2 separate regions of the Homo sapiens genome follow, and region 1 is linked to region 2. Evidence: promoter capture Hi-C in 16 types of primary human blood cells and fetal thymus (Javierre and others, 2016). All regions are on one chromosome and are shown on one strand. Each heading gives the region's core, a stretch centred on a gene start or on the middle of the fragment in contact. The rest is flanking DNA. Distances are from core to core; before and after follow the strand shown.

Region 1 (5,741 bases), core at 2,148-4,647, 89 kb before region 2:
ATAAGAATAGCTATTCTTAAAATAATTATATAGGCAGATCTAAGTTCTGGTTAGAGTAGCACTGTTAAAGTATTCTAGGCTGGGCACGGTGGCTCATGACTGTAATTCCAGCACTCTGGGAGGCTGAGGCAGGCGGATCACCTGAGGTTAGGAGTTCAAAGCTAGCCTGGCCAACATGGTGAAACCCCGTCTCTACTAAAAATACGAAAATTAGACGGACGTGATGGCAGCTCTCTGTCATCCCAGCTACTCAGGAGGCTGAGACAGGAGAATTGTGAATGTTGTAGTGAGCCAAGATTACACCATTGCACTCTACCCTGGGTGATGTGAGTGAAACTTCGTCTCACTAAATAAATAAATAAATATTCTAACTAGCCTGCTGCATCTTTTCTTATTTTCAGTATGTAGCATCCTGTTAGGATATTCTTTAGAAATGCTTCAAAAGCATCAAAAGAATAACCCAGATTTTTTATTAGGTATCATAGATGCCAACTTCAGAGCTCATCCAGAAAGATTATTGGAAAACCAAGAATAATGTCTGACTCTCAACTTCTTCTCAAATTAAATAAGAAATAGAAACAGACTAAATCAATTTAGAGAGCTGATCTCAATATTATTCCAAGTCTGCTATTTAACTCATAGGAGGCAACATTAGGAAAATACTTGCAAAAATTCTTCATGGATGTTTGCAAAATATCATACAACTTTAAAATCAGTGGGTCCATGTGGCATATATCCCAAGAGAGCAAGAAAACTAGCAACTGGGGCTAGCAAATCCTTGTAATTTATTTCCAACAGTCACATTAAAAGTTACAAGTTGCACAAAGTAAAGAGGTTTAATTTTCTTTGAAAGAAAGGAGTCTATCTCATAAATCAGTATTAAAAGAGAAAACTCTTCAAGCATCTCTAAAATGGTGATGTTGTGAGTAACTAAAACATAATTAAAGTAAGAATTTATCATGGGAGAACAAATTTGTGGCCCTTCCATATTAACAGCCTGTTGACCTGTTTCAAAATCAATTTGGTGATATGTACTAATATCTTTTAAAATGTGCATGCCTTTTGAGCTGGTAATTTCATTTATGGGGCTTTATCCTTGGGAAATATGCTGAATTTGAAAAAATAATAAAACTAAGTACAAAGACACTCATTTTCCTAAAAAAATAGAATTAATTTAGTTGTGTTAACAAGAGAAGCAAGCAGCCTGTTTGGGGAATTGTTGTGTCTATCAAAGTCAAAATTAACCTATTAATGCATGGGTGAACTCCCAATAATCTGCTCTTTTGAAAAGAAAACTCAACATCATAATTCTAATCATCTAATAATTCAAGAAATTAATCGCTTATGGCAATCAAATGAATTTAATGTAGGATGTGCCTTTTTATTGTGTTCCTCAAATAAGCTTTCTTCTTTGTATATGCAAACATATTCTGGGAGTATGGCACTTAACAAGATGGCAGAAAAAAATTTAGCCAGGATTCAACACTTTCCCACACATCATCAGCACTTGAGTAAGTTATAAGCATGGTTTTTGAAAGTTCATGTTCAATTATTTCATGAAAAACTAAAAATTTTATTTATTTATGCTGGGGGCTATATCTGAATTGAGACTCCTCAAAGTTAAGATTCTATCGCACTTTTAATCCAGATTGTTTGTTTGGTTAGTTAGTTGGTTAGTTTCCATTTGTTTATTTTGGGTTTTGGTTTTGCATTTTACTTCAGACTGACCAGTAGGAGGGAGAGGAAAACTAATATTTTGAAGGTTTAAAAGTGGACAAAATGAAACCTGCCAAATGGTACTGCAAAAGGGTAATCATACAGGAGAAACATTTTAAAAAGCAGAAAGAACCTAAGTAATTATCACTGGAAAGGTTAGGCAGAAATCAAGCCTAAATAACTTCCATTTCTAAAGATTACCTGACATTTCTTTTCAACAGCTAAAGTGCCACCTAGTGCCAAGCAAGAGAAGCAAGTCAGGTCTCAGGTTTAGAGTCACATGAATCATTTCTTCATTTACTTTGCATCCTTCTGTCAAGGGTTAGTTAAAATGGATCTTCTTCGGTGTCTCTCATCTCAGAAACATTAACAGGAAGTTGTAAGTGGCTCTGTTCAAGTCATCAGCACTGACAACATTAAGAATCATGGAGAAACTTAACTCATTCTTAACAATCAGAAAATGAACACTGGGTATTTCCTTGTAAATTTCAATTTAAAAGTAAATAAAAATTATTAATATAAAGGTCAATAAATGCTCTTCAATGGAAATTTAATTAAATAAATTATGACAGATCCTTTCAACAAAGTCTATGTAAGTCAAAAATTAATATGCTTAATGATACAAAAAACATTTATGACATACTGCTAAGTGGAAAAAAATAAGTTACAAATAGCATATATAGAATGTCTCATTTTGGGAAAAAATGTAGAAATGAGTATACTTGTACATAAAACCCCAGAAGTTAACAGGAACAGTGTTTCCCTGTAGCAATAGGATTAAGGGTAATTTTTTTCCTTTTCTTATTTTGTAAGTATGAAACACTTTTTCAATAAAGATATGATTACAAACTTTTTAGCCAAAAGCAAATATATAAATAAGACACTATACTATCACATGGTCATAATTTAAATAAATAAAAGAAAGAATGACTGGGTTTTGCTAAAACAGGGAGGAAAATTATACTTAATTAGGTAGAAAGAAAATATTTCTAAATACCAAATTTATAAATGATGTTACTTTTTTTTTTATTTATGTACTCATCACCTCACTAAAAGTGCAACTACTTGAACACTGCCCCCTCTCTCCCCTGTGCAACAAATTCTGAACTAAAGTTATCAACTGAAATGTCTTAAGGGTCCAGAACATATTGAAAATGGGTGAATCAACTAACAGTAGGAAGCAGTGAAGGCTGTGGGGATCTGAGAAGTACACACCTGGCAGCAAGCATTCAAATTCCAGTGCTTCATGTCCTCTCTGCAGCTGTCAAAATGCTTTGGAAGGACTTGTCTTAAACACACTAGACTGAGACCTCCCTAAAACAAGGATTATATTTAATTCATTACAGCCATGGTTCTTCACACCAAACCTTAAAGGTCAGAACGTGGGGCTGAGTAAGTGTTCTCCCAAATGTTTATTCTGATGTACTAATTTTCTATTCAGATATCCTGGACATCAGCATCAACTGCTTGCCTGGACACTTCTATTGGTAGACAGTATAGCCAGGACCTGGCCAAGGTCCTGAACTCATAACTCAACAGACTCAGACGTAAAGTCTGGCCCTGACACTTTCCAGGAACTTCAACAAATTTCTTAACTCCTTAAGCCTTAGTTTTCACATTTATACAAGACAGTAATTATAATATTGATTGTGGCTGTACTGATGATCAAACTGAATTCTAATTGAAAATACCTGGACATAGCAGAATCTCAGGAAATGTTATTTATCAGTGTAGTTATGCTACCTGGAGTTGGTGTCGTGCCTTCCATCATACCTCAGAGTCCATAGATCTCAAGCAATTGCTAGTTGAAAGCTGAGTCTACATCCTACACCAATTGTCTTCCCCACTCTTTCACCAGCTTCTTTTGTGGGTTTACCAGTCTCCCTCACTTTCTTGCCTCATCACTTCACACAGAATGGAGCCCTCCATGATGTCAAGCTCTTAACTTTTCTGTAGGAAAAGTTTGCCCATTGATTAACCATCAATCAATAAATAGTATAGTAACTGTTCCTATGCTATTCCCAACACAGGGGGAACATTCTGAATCTGTTATACATACTGTGCCCCATCAAAGCTGCAGAATTTTACATTGTATTTCCCTCCATTGAATTTCCCTCCCTTCATAAATTCACCCTAATAAATGTCATTTGAGGCTGTTTCCTTCAAACTCTCTTATTTTATATTGCCAGGCCTGTAGATTACACTCTGGTGTGCCTTTAGGGAAGTTTTATCTTAAGAATTTCATGAGTATCATGGATATGGACCAACTACTGCTTATATAAAAGATAGTTCCCGTTTTTAAACCAGGTGGTGACATTCAGTATTATATCAGTTTTCCTCTTTGTCGGTGGGTACAGGCAGTAATGTTTGAATTAATCAGAAATTAATCCAAATACATGAGTTAATTTTCAGAGAAATTCTAGAAATACTCCAGGATTAAATTTAAATTATGGGCATATCATGAGCAAAATTTCCTAAAGTTTTCCTAGATTTAATGTTTTAAATCTAAAGCTCCAAAAGCCAATATATAAGTATTACATATTGGATTAAATTACATACCACTAATGTTGTTGTATAGAGCTGGCCATAAGCAAAAATTAAAGTAATATTCCATTTATTTTACTTTAAGAAGGAGAAGAATTGAAAAGTCAAAATAATGGTTAAAGGGAAAAGTAAACTTAAGATATATGAGGTAATTGTAAGAGAATAACTTGTTGCTTTCAAGAATTTCAAATAACCAAATCAGAACAATTATATCATATGAAACTTGAATACATGTTTATAAAACCATTATCAATATATTTGGGAAACCAAGACAAATTTTTTTAAATCAAAGAATTAAAGATTGGCAAATGTCTTCAGTTTCAAAAAGTAGTAACTACACTAGATGTCATAGTGGATCAGAAATATTAATAAAATCTGATTTAGAAGAGGAAAAAAAAAGTAGTAACTACAGATTGAAGAACTTGATATTAATAACCAGCAACATTTAGAACAGGTTATTAAACAGATGATTATGAACATTTTTAAAACAATCACTAGTAGTAAGCATGTGTTCTCTGAAAATCGGCTATAATAATGATATATATTTTTTCTTTGGGGTGAGAACATTAGCTAGCTGTAGAATCAGGATTTTTGCGTTTGTGTATCCCTGGGCAAGTCACTTGACCTGGGACTAAATATTACAAAGTCACTAATAGCTGTTTGTCCAGAAGGGCTCTGTGGTGAAGTATATTGGAACAACAGTTGAACAAAAACTGATAGGTTTTTGTTGTTGAAAACTTACCAGAGTCTTTAATAAGTTCATGCCCATTGCAAGTTTCTGAGAGTGGGTCACTGTGTGCAGTATTTTTCAACTTGATTACCTGAAGAATAATTTTGATTTTCAGTGCATCTTACAAGACTAGGCTTCTGAAGAACTCTCAGAAATACTATGCTGAAAGCTCCCTCAGCTCTAGCATTTTATACCTATAGATGGTTAATTATAAACTATTAAAATCAATACAGGTATTGTTACAATCAAATTATATAGTTTAGAAATGTGTCAAATTTTAACACAAAGAACATAAAAACAATCAGAACCAAAATACATCATGCTTCAGAACTCTGGAATTTATATATTAAGTAATTCAAAATCCAATTTCAAACTACATTTTAAGGCAACTTTAACTTCAGTTAAGCTTATTTCCCTACTGGTTTTTGTTCCAGGAGCTATTAAATTATATCTTCTGATAGGCTATAATTCATTCAATTTAAATTGCATGTTAATTCACTTATAAAAGAAGCAGGAGGATGGGGTGGGGAATGGAGAGAGATCAGCCCCTTTATAATTCAGTTAGCTAATCTTTCATCCTTAATTAGATGATTAAAAAAACCTTTTAACTTTATCTTATATTTGAAAGGAACACTGAGATATATTCAAGAGACAGGGCAAAAGGAATAGCAAACAGAAAATATTGTTCTGTAACTATAAACATCCTCCAATAAGTATTTAAATTACTAATATGTACTTTAAAGCTTATTAG
Region 2 (5,843 bases), core at 2,904-5,403:
ATAAAAGTTATAAATACCTTGCAATAAATACTTTCTTATATGTATTTGGAAATTCTTTCTAGAAATATTGGTGCGAAATATTTTTCAGATGAAGCTTAGATGTCAAGAGACTGGCTGTCTTTTTGCTTACAATTACACCATTTTTATTCCTCCATGAAATCCTTGTTATCATACCTTGCCTAATTTTTATGCAAGAAAAGAAATATTTTTATGTTGGCAATTCACCTGACTTGAAGGCAATCCAAGCAAATCAAGTATATATTAGGCCTATCCACAAGAAAGATAGACTAATCCCTGAATTATATATTAATCATGAAAGAAAGTGGGGAATGGCCCAGGGATAAGGTAACTTCTGCCCTCACTTTCCACCTCACACTCTGTTTCTTCTTAGCTCTTCCTCAAGGAAGAAGGAATTTAGGAAAAGAAACCTGATTGTTCAGAGTCTGGAATTCTTTGGGTGAAACCATGGTACTGAAAAGGCATTTGAATTTGTGAACATTCCCTCTTTCTCTTCCTGGAATTAGGCCAAGAAATATCCTGACATTCTCTTGTGTACTTTGTCACCTTTAATACCAATGGTCAGTGGTCTTTCTTCCTTGTTCCTCATTGACTTTGCCTACAAATTAGTAATAATTCCTTGATATTTCCCCACAAAACCAAGAGCACTGTATTAGAAGTACAGAACTCCTCCCAGAAATGTTTTTCCTCCTGAATGTAAGATATTGCTATAGCCACAGCCTAAATAACCTGGATCAGTTTAGTATTATGGGACAAATATATTTCTCCATATTGGTTGTGTCACCCCCTTTCCTTTGGCCCTGGTAGTATGCTTCTTAGCTTTCTCATATTGCTTTTGAAATTTTCTACGTTCAGTTTATGGGGGTGGGAGGAGGAGGAATAAAGCAATTTAGGAAAAGGAAGCAAGAGGCCTCATTTTAGTCTTTAGCCTAAGTCATGTAGCCTAGCTTAGTTTAACTTCTATTTAGGTATATATGGTACTTACACAGAAATTAATATATATGTATACTTTATACCTCATTTAACTGTTAATAATTTCGTATAGTTCCTTTAGACAGAAGCATAAATAAATGATGGGCTTCAAGTAATTAACTCCTTAAAAAATTAGTAGTCATGCCCCTTACCTTCAAGGGGTTTGAAAACTGGCATGCACAAAATTAAAACCCTCCTAAATTATAGTCTATTAATAATAAGAGAAAGAGGAAAAAATAGAATTGAACTGTCTGCCTCATGCAAACTGAAAAACAACCCAAATACCCTGTCCAATTTAAGCTGTATTCTTTACAATCTATAGACTAACTGAAACAAAAAAATGTAAGAATATGTTATGGCATATAAGACTAAATCCTAAATAGGGTTAATAAAGTCTCATTCTAATTCCCCCTCATTCCATTGTACTTCTGGACTAGAACTTGTTCTACAAATATCTGTCACTCTTCACCTTTGCCTTTAAGGTAAAGAGCCAGGAGAATCATTCAAAGGGAGACCAGTTAGCTGAGGCAAGTTCAGAACTGTACCTCAGGGTTCTTGCCCTCCTGTGCTAAAATCCAAAAAAGCTACAATGTGTTTTGAAGGGCACAGTACCCACTGACCCAATTTTATGAATAGCTCCTTGTTAATTTATTGTTATATTCATCTTGGCTTATATAACACCCTTTTAATAATTTTGGAGTGATCTTAGCACATGACCCTGTTTCTTCCCTTTCTGAGTGTTAGGTTAGCTTGAAAGAAAGGGGTGGGAGTGTATTTCCTTTAACTAGTACAAAACATCTGGATTCCCAGATTATTATAGAGATTTAGAAAAGCAATAGGCAAGAAATGAGGTTGCAGTGCTGAAAATCTGGCGGAGTTCAAAAGCAATTCATTGTTCTGCTTTTCTTTCAGAATAATACACATCACTATACGAATTAGAAAACAAATGATCCATAGATGAGAAGGTAAGTTGACACAGTATTTTTAGCATCCTGTTCTTATTGTCCCAAATGCTTATGATTTTTCAAGAGAACCCCAAAATTGAAGAAGTGATGAAAAAAAAAGTTTCCCCAGACGTTTCTGTATCTATCCTATCCAGGTCAATTCACGCCATCTCTGACAGTTATGAATAACTTCTACTTTCCACACAGAACAAAACACTAATACAAAACTTGAAAGTAAAATGGAAAAGTAAAGTCCTGTCCAAATTGTGGGCTCTTTAAACCAAGCCAGTCTACTCCAGAAATTCCCCACTGTTCATTACAGTGGCCATCACTCACGATCTTGCTTTTAGAAAATGCCTAGTTAACATCACGCAACAACCCTAACTCTTGTACAACACCATATCCCTCCCCTCCTTGGAATGGAAAGGATATGCTGAGTCTCTGGCTACATCTGACCTTGGACCAAAAATCATCTACCCCTGGAGCCAGTGAGATATTTTGTCAGGAAGAAAGGTTGTGGGAGAAAAAGACAGAATTCGAGGTCAGAAAACTCCATTAGAGACTAGCAAGATTATCTGGAACCAGCCTCCCTGGGGATGGTAGAGTAGGAATGATATTCCTTAACTCTCAGGGTAATTAGGAGATCAAATGAGATAGCAGCATGAAACTGCTTTGTAAAGTGTTAAGTGCTGTATAAATGCAGCAAAGAGCTGTTTTCCAACTTCCTTGCTCCAGTGTTGATTGAATGTCCTTTGCTATATGGAACAATTTCCTCCCTTGAGTTATTTAGGATGGGCATGGGAAGAGCTCCTGGGCATTCCTTTAAGGCGTTCCTCTAAGAACCACTGCCTGTGGTAAAGCCAGAGCCTACAGAAACTCATCCCTCCCTCCCCAGCTAGCATTCTGAGGGGGAGGGGGAGGGGACTGACTTGCTCTTCTCAAGTTTTGCTAATTGAATTTTTTGAAGAAAAGACTCAATTCTTCCCTTTAAAAAAAAATGCATTACGCCTTTTCTCCCCAGCCATCTGAAGCCCATGACCACAGCAAATACATGCCAATCTTTCAAGTTAAAGACCCCAGGAACAAAGCTAGAGAGTTCTAGGCCCCTCCAGCCTTCCCCACTCCCTGTTTTCCACAGCAGTCTTTAACGAAATCAGACCCTAAAATGCGTGAGAGAGAAATACTTTGGATCTACCCCTAGAGACAGCGTCGGACGTTCACAACGACCACGCTTTTCCCCGCTTCCTCGATTAGCCTGGCCTCCCTTGCTCCAGTGGGGCGGACTCAAATGCGCACGCACGCACACGCCGCCAAGCCGGTCAACCGCAGACAAATCTGACTCTTCGCCAACTAGTAGCCACGGAGAGCAGCAAAGGGACCAAGGTCCTTCACCGCCTGCTCCAAAAAGACACGGCAACCTCCAGCGGCGCCGCAGTAGCTGCCTCTGTGCTGCAGCCTCCGGTCGGAGTTTCAGGTCTAATTCCTTAAGAAGTATCGCTCCTCTGCCCTTCGTCCTACTCCCCTTGGCTTCGCCCACTTCGCCTCCTTCTCCTCGGGAGGCCAGGAGGACCCGGGTCACTTTGCCAATTCTGCGGAGGGGGAAGTAGCAGTGAGGGAGATTCCCACGCAAGTAGCCCGAAGCCCACTACTCTTTGCCCCACCTCTCCACTCTCTTGCCCGTGTAGGTGCCGGTGCTGCTGGCGAAAGTCCCAGTTCTTAAGGCTCCTGAGCTCGGAAGGGGTGTGGAGGAGCCAGATGGGAAGAGAAGCAGCGGGACGAGGGCGAGGAAGGGCTGGAGATTGTTAGAGGACAGATGGGGCGGGACTGGGGAGAGGGGCGAAGGCGACGCGCCGAGGCACTCCTCCGCCCCATGAGCACAGACAGTAACTCCGAAACGCGCAGATGGGCCGTAAGGTAAAGAGGCCTTTTTTCCCTCTCCTCTCCGTCCTCTACCCTGCTCCCCTCCTAGACACTTGGTGAAAAAGCAAGGTGCGGTGTACCTGGAGCGAACACCATGATTTCTTCCAGCCGCTACGCCCCCAGATTAAGAGAGAAAGACAGGCAGACGGAGGATGGGAAGAAGGCCGGACTTGGCGGGGTCCGGTGCAGGAGGGCGCGCTGGGCGGGCGGCGGGCGGGGCGGTCAGCACCCCGGACAGCTCCCGCCGCTAGATCCTGGGGCCGCAGCTCCAGCCGCCGCCGCGCGCTCTGCCTCCACAATGCGGCCACAGCGGCGGCGGGAGGAGGAGGGTGAATCCCCGCTCAGTCCATCCCTCATTCCTGTGCCAGCTCGGCGACGTACACTGCTGCTTAGGGAGCAAAGCACTTCCACCGCTTTCACGCGACGAAGGTCGGAAGAGCAAGAGAGAGAAAGGTAAACTTCCCGGCAGGGGACAGTGAATTGCTTTTAATTACCTGCTGTGGCTCGTCGCCGTGGATATTGGACTGACATTTAAGATAGATTTGTCAAAAAAAAAAAACTCTAAGAGCTTTCTTTACTCTCGAGGATGACTCTGAGTTCTCCGAGTTGGGCTGGCTCGAATAGAGGGGCGGGTCTGTCAAGTTAATAGGTCCTGGAGGTCCGTGAGTCCTCTCTCGCGAGTCCCAGTCCTCTGCTAACGTCAGGAAGAGAGCAAGAGGAAGGACACAGTGACTATGGAGCGCTCGAGGAGGGCGCTACTATCAGGTTCCGCTCCCAGGTGGCAAATCCGGCTCTGAAAGCTCCTAAGCTTGAAGGTCCTCAAGGTCATCACTTTAGAAAAAGCAAGGCCGGCCAGGGCACAGGAAAGATAACGCATACACCCTTCACAAGGAAGAGCCAACAGAGCCCCCTGCAAGTGTGAGAACAGCCCTGAGATCAATCAAGAAACATCAGTTCTTCCCCTATCCTCACCCAGCTGAAAACTGTCTGCATGCCCCGCTCATACACCCAGTTCTACCTTAAAGGTACTGGGACTGCCTTATGCTCACTTCATCCTCCTAATCATTGCTCACTTTAGGTATCTATTCCCTAATAATGTCTGTGCAGTGTGAACAGCCCACACTAGATGTCACCCAGCTTGAAACAGGTCCATGTGGGTTACAAACCCAAAGCTAAAGCCACCCAGAATCCTCCAGCCTCTCCCCTATTTTTCCAGCTAAATAAGGTTTTCCAAGAACAAAGGTAATCAAGGTCATCTCCAGTGTTTTATGGGGTTTCTTCACTTGCAACTATCCCTGGAAAATGTAACTATTCTGAAAATTAAGTATTTCCTGATAATTGGTTGATGGCAATAAGTTCTACAGTCTTTTGGCAAATATAAAGCATCCAAATAGACTGATTGGCACTGTTTTTTTTTTAAAGCCATCCGATAGACTGAAAATGCAAATAGTTTTACAGCTTTTGAACTACAGTTTGCATGAAGGCATATGGGCAGCCTCAACATAATACAATCAGTACTGCTGTTAGCACCTGGCTCAACACAGGCTTGAACATATGGGGCCTACCCCAGCAGCAGCAAGATGAAAGTCAGCTGATGGGCAGGATAAAGCGTGTGCATGACAGGATAGAGTTCTCCCATTTTGCCAAGTTTCTCCAATGATGCTTCACTCTGTCTTCTTTTCTTCATCCCACGGGAAGTGTAAAACAGTATTTAAAATAATTTTGGAATGAAAGGTGTTTTTCTTGTAACACACTCAAAAGGGCTGTCTTTTACAGCCCTTATGTTTAAATGGGCTTTCATCTCCCAATACATAAACAGTTACCCATGATTAAGTTCAAGGAAAAGCAATATAGTATAGGAAAAACAACAACAAAAGACTTGAGAATCAGACTGAGACCCAGGTACCACATCCTCATCATTTACTAGATGCATGACCTTAAATAAGTTACTTAACCTGTCCTGTCTCATCTGCAATATAAGGATTAAGG

What was found. Contacts are between HindIII fragments. The CHiCAGO score rates a contact against its expected background, and 5 or more counts as called.
Region 1: a fragment that was not itself captured here is called in contact with the fragment with the promoter of AKAIN1 in region 2 in 1 of 17 cell types (naive CD4 T cells); the score reaches 5.5 in naive CD4 T cells.

The regions. Positions count from the first base shown.
Region 1 is chr18:5,104,964-5,110,704 of GRCh38, forward strand. No RefSeq gene overlaps it. Among named protein-coding and RNA genes, the nearest start is that of LINC01892, 27 kb to the left of the region's middle. The HindIII fragment of the contact is 3,994 bases long and covers 1,401-5,394 here.
Region 2 is chr18:5,193,104-5,198,946 of GRCh38, forward strand. It overlaps AKAIN1 (A-kinase anchor inhibitor 1), which reads right to left and starts at 4,154. Exons shown (of 2, transcript NM_001145194.2): 1 at 3,935-4,154. The coding sequence starts at 3,950. The HindIII fragment of the contact is 4,568 bases long and covers 93-4,660 here.